2 separate regions of the Homo sapiens genome follow, and region 2 is linked to region 1. Evidence: promoter capture Hi-C in 16 types of primary human blood cells and fetal thymus (Javierre and others, 2016). All regions are on one chromosome and are shown on one strand. The core of a region is centred on a gene start or on the middle of the fragment in contact, and the rest is flanking DNA. Distances in the headings are between cores, read along the strand shown.

Region 1 (4,733 bases), core at 1,299-3,798:
AATCTAAGGGACTTAAAGCATGATAACTGTTTTAAATAGTTTAAAAAAATAGAAAAACTTTCTGAACACCTAGAAGAATCACTCATTGCTCACTGCATGCCTGATACTCCCAATGGTATATTTCAGTCCCACATTGGGACAAAAATTTTAAAGTTGAGTAGCTGAATGCTAATTATCTACATAGCCTCAAATAAACTTGAGCCTTCTACAGTTCCCACTATGTTGACAAAATATTATGAGAAAAGATAGAAAATTTAGTTGAAGCAAATTATTCTTCTTTGGGATGCTTTCTTTGAAAAATAAAGCTTAAAATCCATGAGATAATACAATAAATATTGTCATCAAGTTTGACAATACGCAGTTAAGCTATGAAATCACTGTTTCGTTCTTTCACATAGGCACTGGAGTATGTACTAAGAATACTGAGTTCTCCCTAGGTATAATTTCTCATCCAGTTTATAGAACTGGGTTCCATTTAAAAAAAATAAACTATCTGAGTGAATTCTGATTTTTTTTTTGTAGAGACTTTGTGTTATGATCAATCTGCTAAGGTTTCCTGTTAATAGATTACCTGTCCAACCATTCAGGAGATGCCGAGATGTAGTTCTGTCCAGAAGAGAAATCAAATACGCCAACTTTCTTCCTATGCAGTCTCAATTTCCCTCAAAGAAAAATAGGTTTTTCAGAATGACTTGAGATGAAGGGAAGGGTAGTAAATTAGAAATGCTTTCATAATTTTCCTTTAAATTTTATATGTTTGGAAGGAAGGAGAAAATACTTGTAAAAAAGCACTTCTGGAGATGACTACGTGGAAATGATCAGGATGTAGATCAAAGTAACAGTTTTGAATTATTTGGGTTTGGTTTGCCTGAAACCTCATACAGCAGATTCATTCTTATTCTAGTGAGAGCTGAACACCAAGGGAGACAATTTCGAATAGTTGGAAAATAATTACCTACTCATCAAGGGTCGGTACAACCTCATTCCATTTTTACAGTAGTTTCTAGAAGTACATGTATCATTTATTTGAGATTTATAATCAATATCTTAGCGTATATGAACACAGCCATAGCTGTAGAAATCACATTTCTATAATAATGCAAAGGCATTTATGTTAATAAATCTGTTTGTAATCTCTGTCATTATGGTTGGGTGTCAATAAGTGAAACTAAAAGGATGTGGAAAATTTCATAACATGTTTTATGCTAGTTATTTGTTTGTTGTCTATTCATGGGGTTACTAATTACAACTGGTAAAAGTTGATTTTCTCCTCTTCAGTTTATTGTGGGATGGGGCGTTCATTTCGCCAGATACACAGTTATTCAGTGTCTACATTTCAGAAGCTGAATTGCTGGATATAGTCAAAATGAGCTTTGGCAATTCCATGTGTGAGTGTACAACTATAATTTTGCTGCACATTAATAACAACCTTGCAAAGAAGCCCAGAATCAAATGCCTTGCTCTCAGCTGGGAGCAGAAAGCTAGAGTGGTATATCTTGGCTGGTGACCTATAATGTTGGAAAAGTAGGCTCTACATTCACTCAGAAGGAGTAGGTGGAATTCCGGAAATTTATTCACTCTCCTTCACTACGCCTTTTCCTTTTTTTTTTTTTTTCCTTCCTTGTAGTGTGTTAGTGAGTGCTCCGAGACAATGAAAAAAAACAATGAATTACAGACAATAAAAATAGTGCATCTCTAGAACAAGCGGTAAAATCAAGGCTTTTATTTCTTCAGGTGTCAACTCTGTTCCTTCCCCAGGTCCTACCCTGCCCAGGTTTCTGTGGCACCTCTGTGATTCCAAATCAGCGATCAGGTGGGCAGCGGTCTGGGCAGTCACCCACAGGGAGTACACTTGGTGCTGCACGTTCGGACTTTCAGTCTTGCTCAAAGCAAAGAATCTCCAAGAGCGCTGAGGCTACGGATTCATTCGGGTGGGGCGAGGTGTTATTATTGTGGGATTGTCTCTGCAGAGTTGGCCTGGAGAGTGAGCGGTGGAGGGAGTGGAACAAGGCTTCGTCAAGAGTCCCCAGGAGTCCAGGGGCGCCCCCGAGACGGGTACGCTGGAGGGCCTGGGCACGGGGGACAAGAGAGAATACATGCCTGCTCGCTGGGAGCAGGGAGGCGGTGTGGCGGGGCAGGGGGCAACGTGCCAGTTTTCTTTCTGATTAATGATGCTCACGCTGCTGCGCGTGGCTCATGCGCTTTGTCTCCAGCCTTAGGGCTGGCGGAGAACGGCCCAGGGAATGAGTGGTACCGCGGGCGCCCGGCGCACCCAGCAGGTGCCATCACTCTGGATGGGCCAGTTCTGGATGCTCCCAGTGGCGCAGAGGCGGCGACACTGGCAGGCGTCCGGCTGCCGCCACCTCCCGGGTGTGGCGGGTCTGGGGCCCGGGGTCTCCGGCCAGAGCAGCTGTGGAGCCACGTGCAACACGCGCGTTGCCCTCAGCCCGGGCGGGGACCGGACGCATCCGGAGCTGCGGGGAGGAGCCGGGCGCCGCCCCCGGCGGCAGTGCCAGCCGCGTGGGAGGGCACGGACCGGCGGAGGGGCAGACGACGGAGGCGGCCAAGCTGGAGGAACGGGACCGAGGGATCGACCGAGGCTGGCTGGCTAGGGGTGGGACTGGCAGAGCTACGGACAGGTGGGAGCAGTCAGACAGCCTGAGAGAGGGAGACCAGAACGCAAAGAGAGCGAGAGCATTAAGTAGGCAGGGAGAGGCACACAGAAAGATAGACAGCAACACTCGCGTGCTCCCTCCCTCCACACGCCCTCCTCTTACCGAGCGAAGCGGCCAGGGGCACAGAGTGGGAGAGGACTGTGGGCACAGAAGACCGGAAGAGGGACGCTGCATTGCTGGTGGGACGGAGGGATTCGGACGGACGGACAGACCAGCGCACAGACTGGCAGCCTGCGAGAGTGGCAGCTTTGAGAGCAGAGCGCAGCAAAGCGAGAATCCCGCGCCGAGCTGCTAGTCGGACCCACAGACGGTCGGACTGACAGACGTGCAGACGGACAGAAGAGCAGACAGGAGGCGGGGGCGCGTTCACTCCCGGCGGCCAGCCGGCCAGAGAAGGCGGCGGTGGCACCTTCTGAGCGCGTCCGGAGCAGAGACCAGCAGCAGCAGGGGCAGCGGGGACACAAGCCGCGACCGAGCCGCCGCCGCAGCCCTGGCTGCCACAGCTGTGTGGGATCCCAGCCGACACTGCAGAAAGCTCCTTTTACTAGCAGTTAAATAAATCGACCAAAAACAAAACAAACAAACAAACCCAACAACAACAACAACAACAAAAGCCAAGCCAAAAGCCAAAACAAACAAATCCAGCCAAATCAATCATTGAGAAACAATAATATTAATAAAATCCAAAACTAAATCAAACCAATCAAGGCACCAAGACGCAGGGGGGATATCCACAGTTCGATCAAGGTAATAATCAAGGTCTTCCGACGTGAACATTGCACGCCTTTTGTGGATTTTTAGAATTCCTTCTTTCTTTCTGCCATATATCTGTCTGTTTCTTTTGAATTTTTTCTTGTCTGTATTTCTTCTTCGTGTTTGTAGAAAGCTGATGTTGTTATACATGTATTGTGTTTTTTATGTTTCGTCAAGGAGGGATGGACGCTCCTTCCCCCAGAAAAGACAGAAATGGAAAGCTGGAAGTTGGCAATGATTTTCATCAGAGAAGTCTACAGTGATTTGTATAGGCTTTATGGTAGAAAGTTTGCAATGCTCTTTTTGAAAGAGACCTATTGAAGAGGTAGAAAGTTATACTCTGTTTGTTGTCCTGGAAGGATTGGGGTCCTAGGTCCCAAAGGGCTCAAGGGGAAGAATAGAAAAGATGTTCAGTTTTATTTTTACATGCATGAAATCTGTGCTTCATTGCAATCGCCAATTTACTCTTTTCTGTCTCAGGTTGTAGATATGGTGGTAGAATTGAGTTGAATTAGGCAGGTGTTTAGAAAGTTTCTTAGGAATAGGAATTAACTCATTCAATGTTTATGCATAGAAATATAGCTGAGGTGGATGTGGTTGCTGTCAGCTATTCAGGTTTGCTACCTGATCACCTCCTGAAGATGTAGGGTAAGGACAGAATCCAAGCCTAAAAGAAAAAACAAGGAGAGAATTGAAAGTTATAGGGGTGGGCAGTTATATTTCTTAAAAGGCTGGTAGAAATCATTTTCCTAAGAATGTGTTTAGAGTACAGATATTCATTTTAATCTTTGATTTCTTTAAGTTTTTTGATGTTTGATTTTCTACCAGTATGACACTCAGCCTCTCAAAACAAGAAGGACATTCCCCAAAGTTGAAATGAATCTGTATAAGATTTCATTCAAATGCAGAATAAATTCAAATGATTCCTAACCCCTCCTCATCTACTTTGGAGATAAAAACTGCTATGATTGTTTTAAGTAAACAGAGAAGTGGAGATGACAGGAAATCATTTTTCATTTGTTAAAAATCAGAAAACCTTTGACACACTTTTAGATAAATACACCTACTCCTTTGATCCTTTGTGTATGTATTACCACAGGGCTTAAATATCTTAAGATTTTAGTTAATGTCATTTTCATGAAAGACAGTCATTTGGAAGCCAAGAGCTCTATCTATGTTTTGTTCAAATAGCCGAGTAATCTACTATCTTGGCAGTAATTACTTCTGCTGCATTTCTAATGTGAATTGCATGTGAGAGCTTATGAATACACTCTTTTCAAGTGTATGTGGGTTTTCAAGGTATGT
Region 2 (4,659 bases), core at 1,959-4,458, 330 kb before region 1:
ATGCCAAACAATTGGGTATTTTTCCTCAATCATTTTAATCTAATCTAAGTTAATCTGTATTTCAATATGTCTCAGGAATGGGGTATTTTTATACTTAAAAATTGAAATCATAGAGAAGAACATAAATAAGAGAGAGGGACCAGGATGAATAAACAGAATCATAAATGCTAAATAAAACAATAAAATAATTCAAGGAACAAAATCTTAACTTGATAGATGCTAGGAGATATTGCAGACATAAAAAGTAGGAATAGTGAAATGAAAAATAGCAAATAGAAAATAAGGAAAACATTTTTAAAACTAGTATTATAGTTGCCAAAATCATTTAAGATAATTAACACATGGGTTGCATAAATACATTTTTAGAGTGGACATCTGAATTATTTATCTGGAATATAAATTCAGTCATATTCCCAGAATCCAGATTACTGAGGCAAGAAGTACTTGCTAAGGTAATTTAAACTAGCTGCTATATAAAACCACTTTGCCTAAAATTCATCCCTTGCTAAAAGTCAGTGAGCACTTCTGGAAAGCTCTTCTTTAAGCACTGAATCAGAAATCAAATCGTTTTTCATCTTTCATTCAACATCTTTTGGCTTCCAAGGTGCACTGGCATCTGTCAGCCTTCAAATATGAAAGGAAAAGACAAATGAGATAGACCACTACCTACTTACACCAACTTGTACTGAAAGGGACACACATGCCCCAGTTAGCTTACTTTTGGCCAGAACTGGCCATATGGATCTTAACTACATGAAACGGGTGCTGGGAAATTATGCTTTACTGTATTCCAATGGAAAATAAAATGGTTTTGTAACTATATGGGTTTTATCTGACATTTTCTAACTAGATCACTTGCAACAGAAATTTAGAGGTACGAAGGGAAATATCTAAGTAATCCATCATCCATCTAATGGAAATTCTAAATGGAGAGGAGCAAAAATAAATGAGGAGAAGAAATAATAAAAAAATAGAAAATAAGTGTTTGGAAATGAAGAAACAGTTATTTAATTGAGGTGGCATGTTGAATGGAAAGCAGGACTAATGAAGTATTATCCATATGTACACATATTGAATTTCCATTTCCTCAAAGATAAAAAGAAAATTCTAAAAGCTTTTAAATAAGAACAGAAAGTTATTTACACAGAAAACGTTATAGAAACAGCCATACACTGTCTTAACAACATTGAATACAGAAAATAATTTTAAAAGTCCTCAATTCTGAGGGGGAAAAAAAATCACCTTTAAACCTAGAGTTTCATCCCCAATCCAATATGAGGGCAAAATAAAGATGTTTTATTTATGAAAAAGGTTACAACATTCATTATTCTCTAAGTACATTTTTTTGTTTTGGTTTGTTTTGAGCAGGAGTCTCGCTCTGTTGCCCAGGCTGGAGTGCAGTGGTGTGATCTTGGCTCACTGCAACCTCCACTTCCCAGGTTCAAGCAATTCTCCTGCCTCAGCCTCTCAAGTAGCTGGAATTACAGGCCCATGCCACCACGCCTGGCTAATTTCTGTATTTTTAGTAGAGATGGGTTTTACCGTGTTAGCCAGGATGGTCTCGATCTCCTGACCTCATGATCTGCCCACATGGGCCTCCCAAAGTGTTAGGATTATAAGCTTGAGCCACCATGCCTGGCCAAGTACATTTTAAAAACATATTCATCAGGATGTAATTTCAATGAAATTAAAAGTAATTTAACTCAGGGGTAACATGAGCTAAAATAAACAATGACAATTGAGCATAATGCAGAATGGGAATGCTAGCAAAAAATAAAGTGTAATCTAACACACTGAAATACATATACAGTTCATACACTCTAACACACTGAAATACATATACAATTCATACACTCTAACACACTGAAATACATATACAATTCATACACTCTAACACGCTGAAATACATATACAATTCATACACTCTAACACGCTGAAATACATATACAATTCATACACTCTAACACGCTGAAATACATATACAATTCATACACTCTAACACGCTGAAATACATATACAATTCATACACTCTAACACACTGAAATACATATACAATTCGAAATTTTGTAAGATGTGAGGCTGCATTTTCTTTTACATGGTTTCAACTACACAATTTCATTATTGTATGAATGTGATGTACATGTACATAATCATAATATTATGAATACTATTATTGCTTTCTTTTTTGAAAATCAAAGTACCGACAAACCACAAATAATTCAATGCTATTTAATGAAATAGAATGTATATTCTATAAACCTTGTAAATGTAAAATACAATATTTATAGTAATAGGAAGGGGGAAGAGAGATGAAAGAAATAAAGTCCTTATTCCATTCTCTTTTATAGCACAAAATTAGTAGGTATTTTCAAAGCTTGATAAATCAAGAAATAAATATTAAATTTAGAATTTAATGCTAGAAGTGTCAATCTCTGAAAATAATAGTAATATATCCAACAATATTGGGATTAGAAGTTAGAAGGGAGAAAATGGGAAGGTGGGTAGTAACATATGAATGTTTTCTAAAGCAGGGAGATTGTAAAGCTTGTCTAGAAAACAATAATCAGGAATGAAGATATATATATACATCTTATATATATATATAATATAATCTTAAAATGTTAAACATTTCTTAATCTTAAATGTTAAACATAATCTTAAAATGTTAAACAAAGAAAAACTAAATACAGACATATTTTCGGTATTTTGTTATCTAATGAATGGGGTTAAAGGAAAGACTTTAGTAAAATTTTATTTCCCTTTCAATGGTTAGTATTTTTAATATGTGAAAACATTAATTGTATACCTGTTAAATAAAAATAAAATACCACATATATTATCCCAACATAAAGTAGTCCTCGGGAATTATATGCAATTTGCAGATTCTGTCAGGTTTCTCAGGAAGACGTGCTCAATTTGTAAATTTATGTGACCAGGGAATATTTATTAATAATGCCTATTTTTAACCATAAGACACTGTGTAACTATAAGTGCTATATGGTTAAATGGTACTTATGGAAATTGTCTATTATTCTAAACTATCCATTTTTTAAGTATGCAGTGAAGAGAAACTCTTAGCTTGGTGCTTTAAAAGGTGAAACAGAACTTGAAAAAAAGTGAGGCAAACCACTGTGACATTAAAGCAGAGTGTGAAAAACAGCAGAAAACTAGTGTCCAAAGGGGAGGAATTTGAAAATCAGTGAAACTTGGAGTTTTGAGAAGTGCGGAAAAGACTTAGTGAAGCCCTGGAAGGGATACTGGAAGTGCTTTGCCTAAATATCACTGGTTGCTATAAATCTCAGTCTCAGGAACCAAGATCAGCTTTCTTTTCTAGGCTAATATTAAAAACTTGTTTATAAAAAATACATACATACATATATGTCAAAAGATTGTAATATTCACATTTCTGACAATATACACAGCAAACATGTTATGATTATATCTTTCTGTGGTTTCTGTTTTTATCTTTGGCAAAAGATATACACTTCTGAAATTAAATATTTCAGATGTAAAGCTGTTGAAACTTTAAATTATTCGAAGCCTTGTGAGAAATGTGGCTATGTGGCCTGAGTCAGGTGGCATGCAGCTGCAACTTCTGCCTTTTGTTGCTGCAAATAATTAGGAAGACCAAATGGTACCAGAGATGATACCCCTTCTGATCACTACTGTCCTCACAGAGTAATACAGTTATCTTTCTTGGAATGTAGCAACGTGTAACCAATAGAATTCCTGTAACATGCACTGGTCTTGTGTGGGAAATGTTGTAATCCTGCTAAAATTTATCTGTCTCTGCCTATATAAGTGAAACCTTAACTTCTTTATTTTGGAACACTGACCCAATTTGAGGTTGGTGCTTCACAGGTGATCACCCTCAAGCTTTGCCCTTCAATAAACTCTAAACTTAATCATATTTTCTGAATCTTATTATTTAAGGTTAACATACTTATTTTTTGTTTTCATTTTTACCTTCACAGATATTTATGGTTTTATAGCTGGTCCTTTTTGGGTTGCCAATTTATTTTCTTACTGCATTTCATTAGGCTGGATTACTAAGGTTTGTTTTAAGGCTTTCTATAGGAATAAGTTTTTAAATTCCTTGTGAGTAGCTAAAAAGAAAGCTTTTATTAAAGTGTAACATTTTCAAATATATCCACGAATCAACCTTATTAGTCATTGTATTCAGACAATCTACTTCTTATTTTCATGATACATATAATATGCTATGAGTGGATGCTTCCATTGTATTTCCGTCAATTTATCCTTGCAATATCTGAGATATCTGAGTTATTTATTTAAATCAATACATACTGTGATGATGATAGATGGGTCCAAGTTGTATATATTACCTTTATCCTTTATCATTTTACATTATCTATTTTTATTTTGTTTCTTCTTTGGTGTGTTTGGTTTTTTTGTTTGTTTGTTTGTTTTTGAGACAGAGTTTCACTCTTGTTGCTCAGGCTGGAGTGCTGTGGTATAATCTCAGCTCACTGCAACCTCCAGCTCCCAGGTTCAAGTAATTCTCCTGTCTCCGCCTCCTGAGCAGCTGGGATTACAGGTGCAGGCCACCATGCCCAGCAAATTTTTGTATTTTTAGTAGAGAAGGGGGTTTCACCATGTTGACCAGGCTGGTCTCCAACTTCTGACCTCAGGTGATCC

What was found. Contacts are between HindIII fragments. The CHiCAGO score rates a contact against its expected background, and 5 or more counts as called.
Region 2: a contact is called between a fragment that was not itself captured here and the fragment with the promoter of ARPP21 in region 1, in 1 of 17 cell types (fetal thymus). The highest score is 9.6, in fetal thymus.

The regions. Positions count from the first base shown.
Region 1 is chr3:35,636,977-35,641,709 of GRCh38, forward strand. It overlaps ARPP21 (cAMP regulated phosphoprotein 21), which reads left to right and starts at 2,549. Exons shown (of 21, transcript NM_001385562.1): 1 at 2,549-3,422. The HindIII fragment of the contact is 6,229 bases long and covers 304-4,733 here.
Region 2 is chr3:35,306,829-35,311,487 of GRCh38, forward strand. The region is part of intron 1 of LOC101928135 (a long non-coding RNA gene); the gene reads right to left. Among named protein-coding and RNA genes, the nearest start is that of ARPP21, 330 kb to the right of the region's middle. The HindIII fragment of the contact is 1,332 bases long and covers 2,543-3,874 here.